6 separate regions of the Homo sapiens genome follow, and regions 1, 2, 4, 5 and 6 are each linked to region 3. The links are contacts of gene promoters, found by promoter capture Hi-C in blood cells and fetal thymus (Javierre and others, 2016). All regions are on one chromosome and are shown on one strand. Each heading gives the region's core, a stretch centred on a gene start or on the middle of the fragment in contact. The rest is flanking DNA. Distances are from core to core; before and after follow the strand shown.

The links. The method cuts DNA at HindIII sites, captures the fragments that hold promoters and counts their contacts. A CHiCAGO score of 5 or more calls a contact.
Region 1: a fragment that was not itself captured here is called in contact with the fragment with the promoter of RALGAPB in region 3 in 1 of 17 cell types (naive CD8 T cells); the score reaches 6.7 in naive CD8 T cells.
Region 2: a fragment that was not itself captured here is called in contact with the fragment with the promoter of RALGAPB in region 3 in 6 of 17 cell types (neutrophils, monocytes, non-activated CD4 T cells and 3 more); the score reaches 15.9 in neutrophils.
Region 4: a fragment that was not itself captured here is called in contact with the fragment with the promoter of RALGAPB in region 3 in 1 of 17 cell types (neutrophils); the score reaches 6.6 in neutrophils.
Region 5: a contact is called between a fragment that was not itself captured here and the fragment with the promoter of RALGAPB in region 3, in 1 of 17 cell types (total CD8 T cells). The highest score is 5.3, in total CD8 T cells.
Region 6: the fragment with the promoter of ACTR5 here is called in contact with the fragment with the promoter of RALGAPB in region 3 in 17 of 17 cell types (erythroblasts, naive CD8 T cells, fetal thymus and 14 more); the score reaches 13.0 in erythroblasts.

Annotation. Positions count from the first base shown.
Region 1 is chr20:38,951,927-38,955,351 of GRCh38, reverse strand. It overlaps FAM83D (family with sequence similarity 83 member D), which reads right to left. Exons shown (of 4, transcript NM_030919.3): 4 at 2,246-3,425. The coding sequence ends at 2,832. Among named protein-coding and RNA genes, the nearest start is that of DHX35, 8.7 kb to the left of the region's middle. The HindIII fragment of the contact is 6,290 bases long and covers 1-3,425 here.
Region 2 is chr20:38,037,838-38,041,306 of GRCh38, reverse strand. RPRD1B (regulation of nuclear pre-mRNA domain containing 1B) reads right to left here. Exons shown (of 7, transcript NM_021215.4): 2 at 743-872. LOC124904898 (a long non-coding RNA gene) reads right to left here. Exons shown (of 2, transcript XR_007067579.1): 2 at 3,200-3,469. Among named protein-coding and RNA genes, the nearest start is that of RPRD1B, 5.8 kb to the right of the region's middle. The HindIII fragment of the contact is 2,555 bases long and covers 858-3,412 here.
Region 3 is chr20:38,470,518-38,474,313 of GRCh38, reverse strand. It overlaps RALGAPB (Ral GTPase activating protein non-catalytic subunit beta), which reads right to left and starts at 1,471. Exons shown (of 30, transcript NM_020336.4): 1 at 1,245-1,471. RefSeq lists a silencer at 1,191-1,390 and an enhancer at 1,681-1,750. The HindIII fragment of the contact is 2,916 bases long and covers 1,074-3,796 here.
Region 4 is chr20:38,019,260-38,023,197 of GRCh38, reverse strand. The region is part of intron 1 of TTI1 (TELO2 interacting protein 1); the gene reads left to right. Among named protein-coding and RNA genes, the nearest start is that of TTI1, 12 kb to the left of the region's middle. The HindIII fragment of the contact is 620 bases long and covers 2,171-2,790 here.
Region 5 is chr20:38,968,072-38,971,831 of GRCh38, reverse strand. DHX35 (DEAH-box helicase 35) reads right to left here. Exons shown (of 22, transcript NM_021931.4): 2 at 2,618-2,751. Among named protein-coding and RNA genes, the nearest start is that of DHX35, 7.6 kb to the right of the region's middle. The HindIII fragment of the contact is 1,686 bases long and covers 1,265-2,950 here.
Region 6 is chr20:38,746,262-38,749,965 of GRCh38, reverse strand. ACTR5 (actin related protein 5) reads right to left here and starts at 1,506. Exons shown (of 9, transcript NM_024855.4): 1 at 1,113-1,506. The coding sequence starts at 1,487. RefSeq lists silencers at 1,271-1,460, 1,761-2,030 and an enhancer at 1,409-1,910. The HindIII fragment of the contact is 9,906 bases long and covers 1-3,704 here.

The DNA of each region.
Region 1 (3,425 bases), core at 379-2,878, 480 kb before region 3:
GAGTAGCTGGGACTACAGGCGCCCACCACCACGCCCGGCTAATTTTTTGTATTTTTTTAGTAGAGACGGGGTTTCACCGTGTTAGCCAGGATGGTCTCGATCTCCTGACCTCGTGATCCGCCCGCCTCGGCCTCCCAAAGTGCTGGGATTACAGGCGTGAGCCACCGCGCCCGGCTCTTGCTCTTATTTCTAATTGTTGGCCACACTTTCAGAGAATAATGGTTTTGAGTCCTGCTCCACAAAAAGAGCACTCTGTGGTAGGTAGTTTGTGGTAAGCCATATACCTGCCCTGCTCTGAGAAATTCACTGTGATCATTACTTCAGAGTTCTGAGTAGTCCTGCATTAAAGAACTTTGTTTACATTTCTTTGGCCCAGTTTCTCACACTAAACACAGAACCTTTGTTATGTCATCCTATTAACAGTTCCATAGAACATTCAGTTAAAATTTCAAACTAAATTAAAATACATTATCACAGGCTGAATGCAGTAGCTCATGCCTGTAATCCCGGCACTTTGAGGGGCTGAGGCAAGAGGATCACTTGAGCCCAGGAGTTTAAGAGCAGCCTAGGCACCATAGTGAGACCCTGCCTTTACAAAAAAATAGTGAGCTGTGATTGTGCCACTGCACTCCAGCCTGAGCAATAGAACGAGACTGCTTCAAAAACAAACAAAAAGAAGTATCACAGATTAGGACTTTGTACTTACTTTTTTTTGTTGTACTTTGCTTTTTTTGCTGTTTTGTTTTTGTTTTGTTTTTTTTGAGACAGAGTTTGGCTCTTGTTGCCCAGGCTGGAGTGCAATAGCGTGATCTCGGCTCACCACAACCTCCGCCTCCCAGGTTCAAGCAATTCTCCTGCCTCAGCCTCCCGAGTAGCTAGGATTAGGGGCATGCACCACCACACCCAGCTAATTTTGTATTTTTAATAGAGACAGGGTTTCTCCATGTTGAGGCTGGTCTCAAACTGCTGACCTCAGGTGATCCGCCCACCTCAGCCTCCCAAAGTGCTGGGATTACAGGCGTGAACCACCGCGCCCAGCCTGTACTTAACGTTTGTTAATGAGGCTGTTTTAGTTTTCCATTCACCATTGCAGTAACTGCCATTTCTCAAGGTACACTCTCTCCTGCTTCCATACTCCGTGTAGAGAAATAGTCATGTAACAGAGTACTGCACTTAGAATCTAGAAACCTGTGTTTAAATTCTTGCATCACCATTTACAAGCCATGTCATCTTGAATATGCTACTTAATCAGTGCCTCAGTTTCATCTGAAAATTGGAAATAACAGCTACCTAACCTGCATAGCTCTCTGCTACATTGCTGCAAAGATCAAAGATGGCATATATGAAGTGACTTAAGTCTGTAAGATGATTTCAAATAACAATATGTTTACTCGAGGCTTAGCTCAGAGTTGTTTCTAAGCAGACATGGATCAATTTCCTTCCTTTCCTTTTCTTTATAGCCACAGATTACAGCACTAACCCAGCAAATAGCCTGACCATCATAAGGAAGTCCTGGCACACGCGTGAGTGTAGGGACACTCATGATACAAGTGCATCAGCATTTTATGTGGCAGACACCTTCCCCTGTTATAGATCTTTTTTGCTGTAGCTAAGTCAGGAGAGGGAGGAAGGCATCATTTAACTCTCTTCCCTTTTGTCTGTCCATGAGAATGAGACAAAAACAGGATTCCACAGCCATACCAATCCTGATTAGAAGGATGTAGAAACCATTACACTGCCTGCCACTGGACCAGGAAACTGGGATAATTGTCAGTGTCCTCTTTTGCCCCTACTCTGGGATATTAGATGGCTAAATCACTGTCAATACACCCAGCTGATGAAATGAGGCCCATGGGGCCACCAGAGTTAATATTGGGAATGAATATAGGAACATACACTAACGCCTCCTTTGGTAGACAAGCAGAGTACCAGAGTACCAAGGACCTACTGAAATAGCTCAGGCTTTTTCTTCGAAAAGAGAAAAGGCAGAGCATGTGCAAAGGCCTGCTATTTCTGGCCAGTTTCCTCACTTAAACTATAGAGTAACATCAATATTCATGATGCTGAGGAAGGTTAAGTGGATCTATTTTCTCTTCTATAGTTTGGATCATCTACTTCTTCCTCACCCTGACACTATTTAAAAAACCTTCAGATATAGATATCTATATACCTATATCTATTAGGTGCATTAATTTGTGACATACTCCCAGATTTAAAGAGAAAAGTGTCAGAGGGGGGGAAAAAGTACAGAAGCACAAGTTTATATTTATTTAATGCTAAGAACACAGATATTCTAAAGAGATAAACAGAAAGTAGTTTTATTTTTTCTAAATAGGATTTTGATCACAAAAATGCTGGTGATTCAAACCTTTAAAACAGAAGAGCATACAACCTAAGAAAAATGCAAAACAGGCTACAAACCTGTACATCATGTTACTGCACTGAATACTGTAGGCAACTGTAACATAATGGTATTTGTATCTAAACACAGAAAAGGTATAGTAAAAATACAGTATTATAATCTTATGAGACTGCCAACATATACGTGGTCTGTCATTGACCAAAACATCATTATGTAGTGCATGACTATTAAAATTGTGCAAAACAAACCCCTGTATCCATAGTGTTTAAACCATAAAACCAATACCTGGTATATACATGACAAAACAAAGCATGTAAAATAATATGCAGCCTAAAGAATTCAAAGACAACAAAGGTGACAAAGTCAGGTAAAAGAAAGGCAATTAGGGACATAAGATATTTTTTAAAGCAGGAAGCTGATGATGTCCACTGTAAGCCTGGAAGAAACCAGGAGTCTGAACACGGAGCAGTTACTGATAGGAAGGATAAAGTGCTACATCTCTAACAGCAAGCAAATTAACTCTGCTGAAATTGCCAGAATGAAGGCCAAGGTGGTTTTCAGTAAAGAGTGTTCTCCTTGACAGCATAGCCAGCATGTGGTTGAGCCGGGACCTGATACCAGCGAAGTGGAATTGCCGCTCTTTGTTCAAGTTTCTAAGTGAGTCACTCAAGTACAGTTCCAGGTGGGGGGTGCCCAGGTACTTGGGATAGCCAGGATTGTGGAAGTCAGTGGTTCTGATGGAAGCGGGAGAACCAGTGGAGCTTGCCACAGAGCCTTGGGAAGACACAGAGGAGGAAGACTTCAAACTGGAAGATCTCGATACAGACATTTTTGAGACTGGTGACCCTTCTGTAGATTGAGTTCCTCGAGGAAAGAGAATGTTCTCATCCATGTCAGTCTGAGTAGTGGTCGATCTGGACCAAATCGTGGTTTGAGAGCTTGCTATCCTGGTGATGACTGCAGTCTGGGTACCAGCACATGCTGTGGTGATGCTGGTTTGTGTTCCCACCTCACTCACACTCAGCCCTGGCATCTCCTCTCCTGGCTCTGTTTGAGTGGCAGC
Region 2 (3,469 bases), core at 886-3,385, 430 kb after region 3:
CCCAATTCCTTTTGCAAATATCTGTTTATATATTTACTTATAAACATAATATTCTAATGAACGATAGTTTTTCTTTGCTTTTCCTGGGCACCTAATTTAAGCCCACAGAAAGCTTTTGTTTTTACATGAAGTAAAGTAATTTATAAAACTTTTAATCCAATGTATGCTTTCTATGGTATTAGTTGTATGAGTGCCACTCCTCTCTGCCACAAAACACAACAGCACCAGGCTTAATACAATATAGCCAGAGCAAACACCTACTTTCTACACTAATAATTACTATTATTGCAGTTACAGTAATGCCTACTATTTTTAGTAAACTAGACATCTAGAAATCCAGAAGGAAATAAAAAGGAAGGCATTTGGCAATTAATTTCTTGCTATTAAGTTATGTTACTAAAAGGTTCCCTTACTAGTTAGCTTTGTTTTTTGATCATAAGCTGATGAGACAACTCAACCAAACCAAGGAAAATACCATAACCAAGAAATAAATTCAAAAAATGAAAATGAATATATCTAGAAGAAAGATAATGCTAGGCTGAATCTCTCAAATGTATCAGAATGTTTACATGTCTCGATAGTTCTTGAGGGCTCAACAAAACATAAAACCACAATTCGGCCTCCACAACTCTCTGTAAAGTAGGAAGTTGTCAATTTACAAAGGCTATCACAGAAAAGGAAAGAACAAAAAGGTGGGAAAGGCAATGAATTTAAAAACAAATCCAAAAAACAGACAACATACCTGGCAACATGAGAAAAAGCATCCACAAGGACAGATTCAAATTCTCTAGTGAATTCAGGTCCTTTCCTTTTACTGTTTTGGATGACATCATTCGCTAAATACAGAAAAGTAAGCTTTCTATTTGATTTGGCTGAAAAAAAGAAAAGAAAAGAATTTAACTTACACCAAAGAAATTCTCAATTCACAATTCTTTTGCCCTGGGCTGCTCCTAAAAAAACATTAAGACAAGTATTATCTACCTGGGGGGTCAAGTAGATATGTTTAAAAAGACCACCTAAGGAATAGGTTTGGGAATACCATTTCGGAAAAAAAAAAAAGAAAAAGAAAAAGAATGGGCCATCTTCATTGCTGTGTTGTTTAAACCAGGGTAATTAATTGATAGTAAAAATTAAGATAATCCAAAGAGAATTCCTAAAGGATAAGCAGTCAGTGTTAATGTTGAAACTAGGGCTTTTATTTATTCTACTGCAAAAATGAGCAACTTCTAACTCACTTTTAATTATCAAATATTTCAGAATGAAAGACTGAGTTGGCCGGACGCAGTGGCTCATGCCTGTAATCTCAGCACTCTGGGAGGACGAGGTGGGTGGATCATTTGAGGTCAGGAGTTTGAGACCAGCCTGGCCAACATGGTGAAACCCTACCTCTACTAAAGATACAAAAATTAGCCGGGTGTGATGGTGGGCACCTGTAGTCCCAGCTACTCAGGAGGCTGAGGCAGGAGAATCGCTTGAACCCAGGAGGTGGAGGTTGCAGTGAGCCGAGATTGCACTACTGTACTCCAGCTTGGGCAATAGAGCAAGACTCTGTCTCAAAAAAAAAAAAAAAAGACTGAGTTAGGTTTCAATTTTAAAATGGTTTCGCCGAGCGTGGTGGCTCATGCCTGTCATCCCAGCACTTTTGGAGGCCGAGATGGACGGATCACCTGAGGTCGGGAGTTTGAGACCAGCCTGACCAACGTGGAGAAACCCCGTCTCTACTAAAAATACAAAATTTGCCTGGCGTGGTGGCACATGCCTGTAATCCCAGTTACTCAGGAGGCTGAGGTGGGAGAATCGCTTGAATCCGGGAGGTAGAGGTTGTGGTGAGCCTAGATCATGCTGTTGCACTCCAGCCTGGGCAACAAGAGCAAAACTCCGTCTCAAAAAAAAAAAAAAGGTTTCTTGTAATTTTGCTCCTAAACTGAGAATTTCTCTGATACTCCAATAACCATAATCAATAATATAGAAGAATCTCTAGGTGCACCAATAGATATTAGCTCAAATACAAGTATACATTAACACTACACTCTTATTGAAAATTTACACACGTGTGAAATCTAGATATGCAAAATTAGGGCTTTCACAAAAACCATAATTCTCTCTTATTTATATGAAATGTGGTTATTCCCTATTACTCTATATGGTATCATATATTAAACCATAAAAACCTCGTGCAATATGTCTGAGTTACAGTTGCTTTGGGGAACATTACTGAATTCCCTGGCTTCTATGCACATAATTTCTCAACTATAAAGTTACATCCCTACAATTTTTGGTTCCAATTTTCTTTTAAAAGAAATAAATAAGAACATAATTAGATGTTTCAAAACACAAAGTTTTCTCCAATGCTAAAGTACCTGAAAAACACAAGCTCTTTATCAACCTTAACACACCTGAGTAACTCTATTTCTCTCTGAAACCAGTTGTTTCTTTTGAAATGTACAAAGCATTGATATGTCTGACATAGCAGGCATAAGATCTGACATTTTAAAATGTAGCTACAGGAGGCTGGGCACAGTGGCTCACGCCTGTAATCCCAGCACTCCGGGAGGCCAAGGCAGGTGGATCACCTGAGGTCACGAGATCAAGGCCATCCTGGCTAACATGGTGAAACCTTGTCTCTACTAAAAATACAAAAAATTAGCCAGGCGTGGTGGCGGGCGCCTGTAGTCCCAGCTACTCAGGAGGCTGAGGCAGGACAATGGGGTGAGCCCAGGAGGCGGAGCTTGCAGTGAGCCGAGATCACACCACTGCACTCCAGTCTGGGTGACAGAGCAAGACTCTGTCTCAAAAAAAAAAAAAAAAAAAAAAAACAAAACAAAAAAAATCAGCCGGGCGTGGTGCCAGGCGCCTGTAAACCCAGCTACTTGGGAGGCTGAGGCAGGCGAATCACTTGAACCTGGGAGGCGGAGGTTGCAGTGAGCCGAGATCGCGCCAACTGCACTCCCACCTGGGTGACAGAGTAAGAGACTCCGTCTCAAAAAAAAAAAAAAAAATGTAGCTACAGGAGAGTAACCCAAGTTAAAAACATGATTTTAATAGCACATTACAGTTTAAACTGATGAAACTGATGTCTTAAATGCTCATAAAATTAAATATGGATACCCTGAATTGTCTTAACCTTCTGGTAATAACCTAGTTTAGATGGCCAACTGATAAGAATACTAGGAACCTGGAGCTTTCTTCAACTTTCTAATTATTATTCAAAAGCAGAACAAAAGTGTCAGTAGTTACAATATCTACTGTTGCTACAAAGGTATGATTATGGCAAAACGTGCTTTTTTGTTAAAGCAAACCTTGCTCTGCAAAGTTGATGTAAGTGAAACTACTACACCTATAATCCCATGCAAGTTAGCAGATTCGAAAGCAAAACAGAACTTCAACAAAGCAAATTTCATTAAGTGAAGCTTTAAAATTCCATACACTTTATGTTGAAAAAAAAAAAACCTAGAATCCATATTGTAAA
Region 3 (3,796 bases), core at 222-2,721:
TGTCTAAAAAAAAGAAAGAAAGAAAAGAAAAGGGTGTGTATATGCATATAGGAGAGAGCAGAAGTGTGTGCGTTTGGGTGGGATGGCCAGAACGTTCAGAGGATGGTCTAGGCAGACTTCCAGCATATGTAAAAACGACCCAGAGGTTACAGACGCTACACCTATAAGTACTGTATATTTAGGAAAATTGCAAACGAGCAGTTTGCATAAGATGCATACATTTTAAATGTTCCAGATGACTCAGAATCCCTGCAGAGAATTCCATCCCTAACAGTCTTTCACAAGGTGTAGTGGTCAGTCAACCTAAAGATCTCTGCGGGTGGAACCTGCAAGTTTAACAAGCTCCCAGACAATTCTCCTGCACACTTAAGCTGGAGAAAGAGAGATGCTTTTTGAGATGCAGAATTATCAAATTACATGCGGTTCCCAAACTTTGCTGCAAGCTGGAATCACTTGGGCATCTTTAAAAAAAAAATATTGAAGTCTGGCTTTCAACTCCAGACATTCTGATTGTTTTGGTCTGGGATGCCACATGGGCATCAGAAACCTTTACAATTTCCCCCAGGTGATTCTACAGTGTAGCAAAGTTGGAGAGCCACTGCCCTAATTGTTAAGCACTTGGGTCGGATGCTCCGGTTCAAATTACTAGCTATGTGACCTTGGGTAATTAAGTCACCCAACCACCCAGGGACTCAGTTGCCTCGTCAGTAAAATGGGGACAACAATCCTACCTCACAGGGTTGCTGTGAAGTTAGACGTGGAGAACGTAATGGCCTGGCATGATGCCTGGCGGATAAGAAGCGCTTAATGGGGGTTAGCTGTTTACTCCCATCATCAACTCTCCCTCATCAAAGTGTCACTGTGCAATGGGCAGCATCGTCCCCACTGGGCGGCAGCAACTTGCCTAACCTTTCTGCTGGACCAAATTCTTTGCGGGAGTTGTCTAGCTCCGCTCCAGACCCGCCCCCTCCCCCAGGTTGCCAGGAGAGAGCTTCGCCTGGCCGGGGTAGCTCCCAAGGATTAGACCGGGTTTACACAGACTCGACAGCAGCCGCCCACTCCAGGGCCAAGCTTTCCCCGCCCCCGTGGGTCTCCCAAAAATTTGCAGATGAGCTTCCAAAGGCCGGGCCCCTGGAGCACCCAGAGCCGAGAAACAAGCCTCAGCCGTCCCTTGACCGCCAGGTGGGGAAGAGAGGGAAGGAGAGGGGAGGGTCCGGCCGCGGCGGGGCCGGCTGCCCGGTTACCTGAGGCGACGGGCGGGGCCCGCATCGCCGGGGCGGGCGCCGCCGCCGGCCGTCCTCGGCCTTCCGCCTCACGCGACCCGCGCCATAGGGCTGGCGCTTTCACCGCCCTGGCCGGCCGTCCTCAGGCGGTCCGTCAGTCCACCCGTCAGCGACTCTCCCAGGGCGCCAAGGGACGACGAAGGCCACTCGAGCCAGCCGGCTGGGATCTGCTCAGGCAACTTCCGACTGCCAGGGGCGGCGGCGTCAAATAACTCCCCAGCCAAGTGGGCCACTGCGCGTGCGCGGTGCGCCTAATCAGAGCTTTCTACGGGGCTGAACCGGTGGCGTCAAATAATTCCCGAGACACAGAGCCGGAAGCTGCGCCTGCGCAGCTATCCCAGATCGCCGCGCGGGACGCATTGCGTTCCTCCCATTCCGGATCAAGTGGAGAGGGAGGAGTGAAGTGACGGATGCACCTACCTCATCGCGGCACAGAGGAGGCGCTCTACCTGCGTCCTTAGGAATCTTACGGCATCCACTCTACCTGCTTTCGGTGCAGACGGATAAGGGGCTTCTCTGCAAGATTCTGGCTCCCACCTAGGTTCTAGGAATTTCTCCCATCCCACCATTACAGCACTCTTCCTCTGAAATGATGCCCTTTGCTCGCCGCCGTCTTATTACACGGGCACAGCATTAATTATGAACAGTGCTCTATTCCAGGCCCGGTGTGGGTTACAAAGGTGAATCGAACATAAGATTTAGAGCCTCTCATTAAAGAGCTGAATCTGATCGAGATAAGACAGTAGTAATAATACTAAGAGATACTACTTCGAGCACCTGCCATGCGCTAGACATTTTGTAAACAGTACCACTTTCAATAATTTGCTTTCACTTCAACGAAGAAAATAATACCATTGGAGAGGTACAGCTTAAGTGCTTTGAGAATCTAAAGGAGGAAACTTGGACTGAGAAAGAAGAGGAGGGAGGGATGGTGGAATTCTTCACGGAGGACCTGGCCTTGAGACTGACCTTGGGTATTGAGAGAGGGAGGAGGGGTCAGGGTGTTGAGTAGAGGTGAAGGCACGGTTGTCTGAAAAGCAGAAGGGAGCAAAGAAGATTCTGACTCCTCACCTCAGTTAGAAGAGACTATGGAGGAATGAGTGATAAGGGAACTAGTATCCTCACAGAAAGGGTAAAACTGAAGAGTGTTTCCTCAAGACCACACCTCACCCCCCAGAAAAATAGCTACAGGAAGGAAGAGGGAAAAGGAGGGTAAGAATGTGCTAGGACAGGAACGAGGCTATGTCCAGGACACTGGATCCAAGCAATACATTTCAATTAAACACAGTGTGACAAATTATGTAGTTGGCTAACTCAAGATCTATTTCAACCACTCCCTTGCCTTTCTATACTACAGGGGCTGAAAAGCAAAGCACACAACTCTCAACTTTCTTTGCTGCTAAGGGTGGCAGTGAGACAAAGTCCTGGCCACTGAGATGTAGGCAGAAGTATCAAAGGAGACCTTCCCTTCCTTCTTCCCTTGGAGAAGTTTGTGTCCTTCACTTTTCCCCTGCTTCATGCTTGGAACTGGGTAACACCTGGGAGCACAGCAGCCTAGAGGCCATGAGGAGGGCTGTGCTGAGGAAGGTGGAGCAGAAAGACAGGAGCCTGTTTGTTTAAGTCATACTCAAGCAGCTACACAAACCCTGTACTACCTTCCTGTCTTATCGGGATGAGGGATCTTATATATACCAGAGTTTGTTGAGTTTTATGTTACTTGCAACCAGATGCATTCTAACACAATTAATACTGAACCCCTGTAACAGACAAGGGAGGGGTGACTAACTGGAAGAACAACGGGTGATGGGAATTGGAAAAGTGACAGGCACAGAGGATGGGAAAGCTGTCCCAAAGCCCTTGGGGAGATGATGAAAATACAGCTATCACCCTTCTAGTGGTTTCAATTCATTCCTGAAATTCTGCTTCTAAGTGGAAAGCTGTTAAATTTTTCCCATTAATTAAAATGGGCAAAATTGTGTTCAATTCCAGCCTAAGGCACCTAAATATTTTTAACAGAAAAAATATATTGATGCAACAGAAAATTATACAAACAAATAATTTTGCTTAAAATATGGTTTTTACATAACATGTAAGGCAGTAAGACTTACTGCTCTGGACAGAAAGACAAGATTTAATATTAGGTGCAAGTTGGTGGAGGAGAGATGCAAGTGAGTGGTTCTCTAAATGATGGTTTGTTTTTTTAAGACACAGGGCCTCGCTATGTTGCCCAGGCTGGCTTCAAACTCCCAGGCCCAAGCGATCCACCTGCCTCAGCCTCCCAAGTAGCTGGAACTAAAGGCACACATCACTGTGCCTGGCATAAAAGATATGTTTTTTCTGCACTCTTTGCTAATTTTTTAAAACTTTTGAAGTCTTCACTTAAACAAACATAAAAATAAAACACACATACGCACATATACCTTGAGGGAAAATTAAAGACTAAACATTAGAACACTTTGAAACATTTGAGAAAAGCACACATGTACAATAAACTTAAGAGACACATGAGATGC
Region 4 (3,938 bases), core at 1,231-3,730, 450 kb after region 3:
CATCACTGAACCTCTCTGAGCCTTGTGCTGCTCAGCTTGTGGATGAGGAATACAATAAATACCTAGCACATTGCCTGATGTATGATGGGGGTTTTTTCAACAACAAAAGAAAAATGCTTTCCTCCTATTCAAGAACTTGTATTGGCGATTCTTACATCTGAACTCCTATCTCTGGGCTCTAAACCCAGTCGTTCTTTCCATAGGCTAGTTATTCAAAGGTGGAAATTTTGGAGATTTTCTTATCCATAAGTTTATTTTATATTGAAGAAGATAAAATTCATGGAAATCACACAGCCAGGTACTGTAAGAGCCAGGGCTAGAACCCAGATCAGTCCTCCAGTGTACTCTGAACACTGCAACCAGATGGATTATTGAACAAGTACCTATTTCATCTTACGACTTGTTCTTCAGAAGGGAAAGCATGTATAGAGAGAAAATATACATGTTCCCTCTGTCCCAGTTCTGGAAATAGTCTAAAAGTGGGCTGGAGTACAACCAAATCTAGAATTATGATTACCCCATCAGAATGAATCTAGCAGGACCCTCCCAGTGTAGACGAGATCAACTACCTGTAGGAAAAACTCACCCCAAGAGAAGAAGAGCATGGCAGGTTTTATCTAGAATCCGATTCGGAATAGCTGATATCAGCACTCTACAAATGACAGAACCAGATCTTGCATTATGACCACTAATTCAATGAGCATTTATTGAATACCTACTGTGTGCCAAAAGCAATTAAGAAACCAGTCAAAAATCACTGATTCTAGTATTCTAGTGAAAGGAGAGAAACAGTAAACAAACAGGTAGATGATCTGGTTTGACAGCTGTTGTGAAGTGCTAAGGAAGAAAATTTTAAAGGCAAGGAAAGGAGATGAGGAGTAAGCATGGGTAGCAGTGTTAATAGGGGTGATCAGACAAGGCGTCACTTGAGCAAAGCCCTGAAAGTGGTAAAGGAGCGAGCCCTGAGGACATGGGGGAGAGAACAGCAAGTGCAAAGGCCCTGACCAAATGATTTCATCTGAATGGATGTGTGAGGCCTGGCTCACCTGCCACAATGGCATCTCTGTCTCATCTCTGCCTTTATTAGGTGCTATGACTTTTCTCCCTTCTGGCCTTTGCTTGTGACAGGCCTTGCACCTTGAGCAGCCTTCTCACATAGCCCAAAGTGTATAGTACCCCAGCTCAACACAGATCCTTCTCCCTCTTCCTTGTTCGTATTCATTCTGTTTCCAAATTCCTTTTGCACTTTTTCCCCTCCCTTTTTCACTTCTTGATTGTGTGATACAGTAAGTACCTTGGGATCTAAGTATCTGTAAAGTATAACACCGTCTCCTGTACAGATTGTTCCATTTGTCTTCACCACCTTTACACCATGGCCCAGGGATCTTACTTATAGCCCACCCCTGTTACAAGTTAGGTAGAGGGGAGGGGAATAGGCTTGCCGGGGGCAGTGAGTTCATTCATGCTGTCCAATCACAGATCTCATCTCCCACCTCTCCAGTGCCTACTTGCCAACTACTTTCCAGGACCACAGTGGAGGGCCACTAAACTAGAAAGGGATTAGGTGTCCATTAGCAGTCAAGAACTGTTTGCTCATGCTTATGTTTATTCATGTTTATTCAGTCACTCTGAGCTCTGGGTGGTTTTGTCTACTCATCCAGAGAATCCGTTTGTTCTGAATGCCTCATCCCAGTATAACTTTCTGGACCAGAATGCCCCTGTTGCTGTTGGTTATAAATATCAAACTTTGGTGCAGCACCACTCTAAGTAATCAGGGTTGCATTTTATAGGAATAGAATGTAGGATTCCTAAGGCTCTAAATCTCTAAACAATTCTTTCTGTAATTGACATATTGTCACACAACTGTGATTTCATGGCCATCCCATAAAGCTATATGATTGCCTTTTATAGTCATGTCAAAGTAGCAATGTGTTATGCCAAAGTAGCAATGTGTTATGCTGTCTTCCTTAGAGAAAGCTGGTTTATATATTTCTGAGCCTATAACCCAGACTTTTGAAGATCTCTGATTGTGGTAAATCTTCATCTGTATAGTATTTCATAGAATGTACTACAGTTTATTTATCCATTCTACTACAGATAGGCATTGAGGTAGTTTTCATTTTAGGGTGATTGTGTATAGTAAATTCCAGAATATATCTTTTGATAAGCTTATATGTACATTTCTATTGGGTATATATCAAAGAATGGAATTGCTAGATCATAGAGCATATATATATTCACCTTTGAAATAATAGATACTGCCAACGAGTTTTCCGTACTAGCTGCACTGATTTATACGCCCACCAGCATTGAATGAGAGTTTTAGTTGCTTTGTATCCTTGCCAGCACCTAGTATTTTCCCTTTTTTAAATTTAGCTCTTCTCATGGATGTGTAATGATATTTCATTGTGGTTTTAAATTGCATTTTCCTGACTAATGATATTTAAAGTCTTGTCATATGTTTATTGGCTATTTGGCTATCCTTTTTTGTGATATGTCTATTCAGGTCCTTTTTCATGTTTCTGTTAGGTTGTCTTTCCTTTTTTAAATGATTTTTTAAAAATCTTTTGTATATTATAGATATGAGTGTTTTGTCAGATATATAGCAAGTATCTTCTGTCACTTTTTGAATTGCCTTTTCACTCTGTAATAGTGTCTTCTGATGAAGAGAAGTTCTTAAATTTTAAGGTAGTCCAATTTATCAGTTTTTTTCTTTTTGTGTCCTATTTAAGAAATCTTTGCCTACTCCAGGATCACAGAGATGTTCTTGTCTGTTTCCTTTGGAAAGCTTTATTGTTTTACATTTCACATTTAAATAGGATGTGATGGAATCAAGATACATACATATATATATATATATATATATATATATATTTTTTTTTTTTTTCATATGAGTAGCCAAGTGACATAGCACCTTTAATTGAAAAGGCCATTCTTTTCACCCCTTCATTTTACTGTCATATTTGTCAGGTGTGTAGCTGGACTCTCTATTCTATGTGTGGTCTATTTCTGAACTCTGTTCTGTTCATTTTTCTTTATGCCAAGTATACACTGTCCTTTAATTATTGTATCTTTATAGTAAACCTTGAAATCAGTTAGTGTAAGTTCTGTAACTGCATTCTTATTTTTGAAGATTGTCTTTTCTATTTTGGGTCCTTTGCATTTCTCTATCAGTTTTAGACTCATCATATTTCTGCAGAAATCCTACTGGGATTTTGATTAGGATTATGCTGACTCTACCAATGGTACCAAATCCAGGGACAATTTTTGTCCTTGACAGGACATCTAGCAATGTCTGGAGACATTTTTGTTTGTTACACCTGGGTTGGTGCTACTAGCAGCAGATAGATGGATGGCCAAGATACAGAGGCCAAGGATGCTGCTAAATGCCCTGCAATGCACAAGACAGCCCTCCACCAACAAGTAATTATCCCACCCAAAATGTCAATAGTGCTGCTGTTGAGAAACTCTGCACAAATGTAATCGCTGTTTTAGTTGTACTTCAGACTTCTGTCTGCCATCTTACTTTTTGTTTTCAATTTGGCTCACTAGTTTTATTTCTTTTTTTTTGCATTTTTGCCCTTTTTTTGATTAATCAAAAATAGTATCCCATTTTTTACTGCCCTGTAATCTTGTTAGGTAGCTATTCTTTTACAATTATCTTAGAGCTTACTCTACAGATTTCAACATGCATTTAACATCTTGACATGTTATGGTCTAATACAGATTATTTTATCACTTCATTACACTACTAGACTCTTAGACACTTAACTCCTTCCCCCTCCCTACCTTTTGTGAATTATTCTTGTCTTGCATTTTAGTTTTATATATACACAAACTACAGAAGACATAATAGTTATTGTTTTGTACAGTTAATTTTTTTATATTTACCTATTTCATTTTCTTCATTCCCTCTTATAGTTCCATGCTTCTGTCTA
Region 5 (3,760 bases), core at 858-3,357, 500 kb before region 3:
TAATGGAATAATTTGTAGTTATTAAGAAGAGGAAATATCTACTTGTACTGATATGGAATGAACTATAAGATATGTTAAGAAAAGGAAGTGAGATGTAGAACAGTGTGAATAATACCCTAGTAACTGCATTCTTCTTAGGGCAAACACGTATCTACTTGTTTATGCGTAGACTGTTTTTGGGGAAAAACAAAACAAAACAAGAAGCTGTCAATAGTGCTGCCCCCAGAGAGGTTGACATGTTCTTACACTAAGGACAATATACAAAGCAGAAATCAGGAGGCATTTATAAGACTGGGTCTAAACAGAAGTGAACATGGCAGACTTGCATCCAAGATAGAGTCACTATTGTCTATACAGCAGCCTAAAGAAGGCAGACAAGGGAACAGGTGGCCTCATAATGGTGCTGGGGAAGAGGCAGTGATCTTTAACAATCTCTTGATGCTTTAGTTCCAACATTGTTTTGTTTTGTTTTGTTTTTTGAGATGGAGTCTCGCTCTGTTGCCCAGGCAGGAGTGCAGTGGTGCAATCTTGGCTCACTGCAACCCCCACCTCCCGGGTTCAAGAGTTCTCCTGCCTCAGCCTCCCAAGTAGCTGGGATTACAAACATGTGCCACCACGCCCGGCTAATTTTTTATATTTTTAGTAGAGATGGGGTTTCACCATGTTTGCCAGGTTGGTCTCGAACTCCTTGTCTCAAGTGATCCACCCGCCTCAGCCTCCCAAAGCCTATAGGATTACAGCCGTAAGCCACCACACCGAGCCTCCAATTTCTGTTTTTAAAGCTACTTTTACTTTTTGTTTGAAAGGGAAAAAGGATGGCGTAGAGGTAACTTGTTTTCCTTTTTGTCTCGATTCATCTTCAACATCTTATAAGATCTCAACTGTACTTAAACTCTGCTTTGCTTTATATCAGTAACTTACACCCTTCTTCTTACCATTTTAATTTCATAAACATTTCTTAACTTCTTGTTGCTTTTTTTTTTTTCATTTGCTGTTTCATTTATGTTATCTTGTAAGTACAGTTGGGAGACAAAGAATAGTCAAGAAAAGGCCAAAATTTAAATACTTGAGTAAACAGTAATTTCCCTTGTACTTGAGCATTTACTACATGTCAGGTATCTTGCTAAATGCTCTGCATGGATGATCTCATCTGGTCCTCATAACAGTCCTATGAGGTAGGTGCTCCTGTAGTCCTACATCACAGATAAAGAAAAGAAGCTCAGAATGGAGAAGTGAGGTCACACAGCACACAAATGGTGAAGCTTGGGTTTGAACCCTGAAGTCTAGCTCCAGAGTCCGGACACTTCATCACAGCTCAAACTGTCCCTCAGTGGTGAGAAAGCAATAGTAAACCTATCATTTCATCTCCTGAAAGTCAAACTTGCTAACATTCATACATAGTGAATGTGTTAGTCACTTGAGGAAGAAACCCAGAGACAGTCAGTTCACTTGTGACTAAAATATTGGGAGCCACATAAAACTCCAAGTAAGGCAATCTGGCTAAATTAAGAAGGCTGCTGTTGCCTATCTGTTTGGAGAAAGAACACATTAATAGAAGAGGAATTATCAGCACAGTCTAGTCAAAAGAACTCCATGAGTATAAGAACTTGGCACCTTTTGGCTGCTCACACCTGTAATCCCAGCACTTTGGGAGGCCGAGGCAGGAGAACTGCTTGAGCTCAGGGGTTCGTGACCAGCCTGAACAATATAGGAAGACCCTGTCTGATAGATAGACAGACAGACAGACAGACAGACAGATAGATAGAACACAGCAACTTTCACCCAGCACCGTCCAGGAGAAAGAAAGAGACACAGATGCTGGTGGCCACACCTACTCGGGTCATTCCAAGGGCATCCTGTGGAGCAGGGAGAATTCACCCCTCATCAGGGGCTGTATGACATTTCTGTAACCTGTCTTGGCTCTGTACTTCCTGATTACAATTTGGCTTCCCATGTGGATGTGCCAACAGGGACAAAGTGTATATGTCAACTGTGTCCATCTGTACTGGAGAATTATTGCTAGCCATAAATGAACAGTTCTGAATGAATTCTAGTTTGCACTTTGGTCTCTTGTAGCTGAGCACACATCTGTTTCGTGAGCGCTAATAAAACTGAGTGTCTGGATGTGCACTTGGTAAGTAGTAACCATACCAAAATCCTGTCACTGTCTCAGAGGAAGTCAGAGTATTAACTGATGTCTTCAGCAGAAACAACCTCATATTCCCAATTAAACTTGTTTAAAGGAGTGACTTTAAAAATAAAGCAAAAATTGGCCATATGTTGGTAATCTGTTATATAGAAATTAACTGCTATTTTCTCTACTTTTCTGTATATCTGAAATTGTCCACAGCTGAAAGGAATAAAGGGGAAAACAAAAGTCATTCTAATTCCTCCAGTTTTCCAGTATGTACGATGCAACTGAAAAAATCTTAAGGACTTTCAAGATTTATAAGGTTAACTAAAAAATACACAGTATGAAAAGTCATCCCTTACAGTAAGGGTTTCTCTGAGCTCACTGTGTTCTAGAAAGAGGCCATCATTCCCTTCAGTGCTGAGCATAAAGCTAATGCAGACACACGATTCAAGCCCACAGGTTGAACATGATTATTTGACGTACCTTGAATACCGGCAGCTTCTGCCTCTGCTGCTCTATGGAAAGGGCAGCATAAGGGTTGTAAACAACCGTTGTCCCAGAGTTTTCAGCCAGACTTTGTCTCTCTTCAGAGATGCTTACACCTGGCCCCTCTGTACCTGCAGCAGAAATGTTTTTTTTTCAGATTCTCTGATACAATGAACAGAAAAAGGTGTTAAGTTTATAAACTTTCAAAGATGAAGATATACAGAAGAAGCAATACTTTTTATCTCAAACTACTCAAAGGTATTCAACCTTAACTTTAGGAAAGAATCCAGAAAAGTGCCTACGAGGAACTAAAAATCTTCCCTAAAAGCTTCACTGCAGTGTCAAAAACAAACAAGACAGGGTTAGGTGCAGTGGCTCACGCCTGTAATCCCAGCACTTTGGGAGGCCGAGGCGGGCGGATTGCCTGAGCTCAGGGGTTAGAGACCAGTCTGGGCAACAAGGTGAAACCCCACCTGTACTAAAATACAAAAAATTAGCCAGGCGTGCATGGCGGTGTGTGTCTGTAGTCCCAGCTACTCGGGAGGCTGAGGCAGGAGAATTGCTTGAATCCAGGAGGCAGGGGTTGCAGTGAGCCAAGATCGGGCCCCTGCACTCCAGCCTGGGCGACAGAGCAAGACTCTGTCTCCAAAAAAAAAGAAAAAAGAAACGAGATGGCAGTCCCACTGGGCTCCAAATTGGCCACTCAGAACTGTGTATTACAGAGCACAGTGTCTTTACTTCTGGCCTCCATGTCCATGTTATTACTGAATTCTTAACAGAAGTGAAAGAAACCCAGTGGGAATTAGCTGAGGTAAAAGGATGAATCTTGTTACTGTAGGATGGCAATAAGGCTCAGAGATGACAGAAACTGGGCACTCAAAGCAGCCATGGCTTTCTCCTTCTCTCATCTTGGCACGTCTTGCAGGTTCCTTCCAGCCCCTTAGGTTGGCTACTGTACAGGAGCTGGAAAGACGGCTGCCGGCAGTGCCAGGGTTCACGCTTACAACTCCTCTACCAATCATTCATCGTGGTCCAGCAAGGACCAGCAAGGATGGACCAAGGGCCCACTCCATGTCACGTACCACTCTAAGCACTAGAAACACTGCAGTGAACAATACAGATGCCAGCCCTACCCTCACG
Region 6 (3,704 bases), core at 257-2,756, 280 kb before region 3:
CTCTTTTTGAAGCATAAAAGAACCCAAAATCCTTATTGCAGGACTGAATTTGCTTTTGGCTTCTTAATCAAAAACCTGATCAGAGGCGATTATAAAACTCCCATCTCATCTTTACTTGAAAATACGAAAGTAGAGTCAATTTAAGTTATTAAGTCAAGGTCCCATCCAAACTGTCAGCAAATCGTGTTGGCTCTATCTTCAAAGTATTTCCAGAATCCAACTGCTTCTAATGACATTCCCTGCTATCTGCCTCATCTAAGCCACCATCATCCCTTACCTGGGTTATTCCAACAGCCTCCTAACTCGTCCCTGTTTCCACCCTATGATCCAAGACAATTCATTCTCCATACAGCAGTAATAGTGATCCTTTTAAAACACAAGTCAGGTCCTTCTTCAGCTCAACACCCTGCCATGGCTCCCCATTTCACTCAGTAAAAGCCTATAAGGTGTGTGATCTGCCTCTCCACTACCTCTCTGACATCCTCTTTCAGGTACTACTCTCCCCCTCACACAGGCAGCCTTGCAGTTAGGATTAGGGCACACTCCTGCCTCGGGGCCTTTTTACTGGCTGCTCCCTCTGCCTGGACCGTTTTTCCTTCAGATATTCACATGGCTTGCTACCTGAATCACCTCCTTCAAGTCCTTGCTCAAACATCACCTTCACGAGTCCTACCCTGACCATCTTACTGAAAAAATGTAACTCCCTCCTCTCCTATCACGGCGTAGAATCTACTATTTCTATGTTTACTGTCTGCCTTTTCATACTAGAATATCTTTCCATAGTATTAACAGCTCCATAAGCACAGGAAGTTTTGTGTTCACACATGTACTCCAAATGCCTAAAAAGTGCCTGACACAGAGTAAGTGCTCAATACGTATTTGTTAATAAATGGGCTTCTTAACAAACAAGCATATATGCCCAAAGGTATGCTCCAAGATACAAGGAGCAGCATTTTATTCGCTGCTACACCCACAGCGCCTAGCATCTGGTCGACTAAAAGACAATCGGAGCTACTGAAGTGACTGTTACCTCTCCGAGAGCAGAGTGAGCGGAGACGAGACCGCACCCCTCCCCTCAAACCCAGCCCAGCCCAGCCTACTCCGCCCTTCACCTGTGAGGAGACACCCAGGTGCTGGAAGCTGTAGTCCAGCAGCAACTCCTGAAGCTCCAGGTTGACCGGCACGTTGCGGTCGAAGGGCGAGCGCAGCATCCAGCGCAGTGGCTCCAGGCTGCCCAGAGCGTTCCCCACCTGCGGGCCCGACGCGCCCCGTGCCCCGCCACGACCGCGGGCGCACACCGCGCGGAACTGCAGGCGCGGCTCGGGACCTGGGTCCTGCCCGGGACACGCCCAGCCAGCGCGGACTTGGAACGACCCGTTGTCCAGCACCAGCGGTACCGGCAGTGGCCCGTGTGCCACCGGGCCGGCCTCCAGCACTGGGTCCGGTGCGGCACGGGCGTCGCGGAACGGGAACACGTTCGCCGCCATCTTGGAGCGCGCGTCCAGCCCCGCCCCTCGGCGCAGTGTCCGCCCAGACGCCGCGAAACCGCGCCCCCGACGTCACGCCGCGCGATTCAGGCCTTTAAGTACCTCGATGCCCCCTCCCTTCTCGAAGCCCGGCCAGCCTTTCCACTTGACTCGCCTCTGGCTGTCAAGGCTGCTTTCAGGATCGCTGAGACGTACCCATTCTGGCTGCGAAATTCTACGTTTCTTAACCTCTCCCCCAATAGCCTATGAGTGCCCACGCCCCTTCACTCTAGCCGGGACGCCCGGTTTGGAAGCCCCGCCCCAAAGCCTATCGCCGCCAGGCCCCGCCCCTTTCTGGCTGCCAGCTTCAGCGCCGCGCTCGGTGGAGCCCCGCCTCTCTGCCTGGCCACGCCCCATTGCCGGGCGCGCACCGTCGGCCGGGCGCGCACCGTCGGCCGGGCGCGCACCTTCGACCGCCGGCGGCCCCGCCTCCGCGTGGCTGTCTCGCCCTCAGTCTTGCGTCCTGGCTAGAAGGGTCCTTTATCTTTTGACGCTTCCTTTACGTTAAGAAATCTCAAACTCTGCCGACTGTTCAATTTCTTGACTAGGGAGCTGACTACTCAGTTCTGTTCACTTTACTAACTCGCACAGACTGTGTCTTCTCACTAAGACACAGTGTTTTCTCAAACCCTGAGAAAAGACTGCTGATTGTTCCCCAAGCATTCCCTCTCTTTTAGTGGCATCACCTCCCACTCCCACGTGGCCATCCGTCTGGCTGCGATCTAGATGCGCTCATGTGACTAAATTCTGGCCAGGAGCGGGTGGGAGAGGAGGCCATGTGTGTGACCCACTCAGTTTTAGCCCTAAAAGCACTCGTCGCGCTCTATCCTGTCGCATTTCCATCTTTTCACTAGCTAAGGGGGTAAGAATTAGAGCAGTTGTTTTACTACAACCTTTTTTTGTGCAGTGGGGCGATCTCGGCTCACTGCAGCCTCGACTTCCTGGACTCAAGTGATTCTCCCGCCTCAGCCTCCTAAGTAGCTGAGATTACAGGCGTGCACCACCACGCCCAGCTAATTTTTATATTTTTAGTAGAGAAGGGATTTCACTATGTTGCCCATGCTGGCCATAACCATTTTGAAAGAAGAAAAAGAATAGAGCAGCTGCCTTGAATCTACTCTACCAGGTCTATAACACTTCAGTTTGAGAGATAAAATCAAATTAGTTACAAAAGATATTGTAAGCGAGAAATGAAACTCCTAACTTATCTCAAGAACCTCTATTAACAGTGTTTGTTGTTGTTGTTGTTTGTTTTTTTTAAGACGGAGTCTGGCTCTGTCACCCAGGCTGGAGTGCAGTGGTGTGATCTTGGCTCACTGCAACCTCCACATCCCCGGTTCAAGCAATTCACCTGCCTCAGCCTCCCGAGTAGCTGGGATTACAGGCATGCTCCACAACACCCAGCTAATTTTTTTTATTTTTAATACAGACGGGATTTCGCCACGTTGGCCAGGCTGGTCTCGAACTCCTTGGCTCAAGTGATCCGCCTGCCTCGGCCTCCCAAAGTGCTGGGATTACAGGCTTGAGACGACGGGCCCAGCCTGTTAACACACCTAAACCAGATTGGGAGCCAGCCCAGTGGCAAAAATCAGGTTGTGTTGTCTTTCAACACACGTCCATTGTTCAGATATCTGAAGTAACCATCGTTAAGTTAATTAAGAGGGGGACCAGCAGAACACAGAAACCAGTAAATGTAAGTTAGTGAATGTTAATTTAAGAATTGTGTCTATGTATATTAATATGAAAAAGCACTGGCTGGGCGCAGTGGCTCACACCTGTAATCCCAGCACTTTGGGAGGCCGAGGCTGGTGGATCGCCTGAGGTCGGGAGTTCGAGACCAGCCTGGCCAACATGGTGAAACCCCGTCTCTAGTAAAAATACAAAAATTAGCTGGGCATGGTGGCAGGTGTCTGTAATCCCAGCTACTTGGGAGGCTGAGGCAAGAGAATCGCTTGAACCCTGGAGGCGGAGGTTGCAGTGAGCCGAGATCACGCCAGTGCACTCCAGCCTGAGCAACAAGAGTGAAACTTTGTCTCACAAAAAAGAAAAAAAGAAAAGCACCAAGGTAAATATATATATTATATATATTATTATTTTATATATATATGAGAGGCAACTCCAACGGGGATGGCCAGTGTGGTGGCTCATGCCTGTAATCCCAGCACTTTGGGAGGCTGA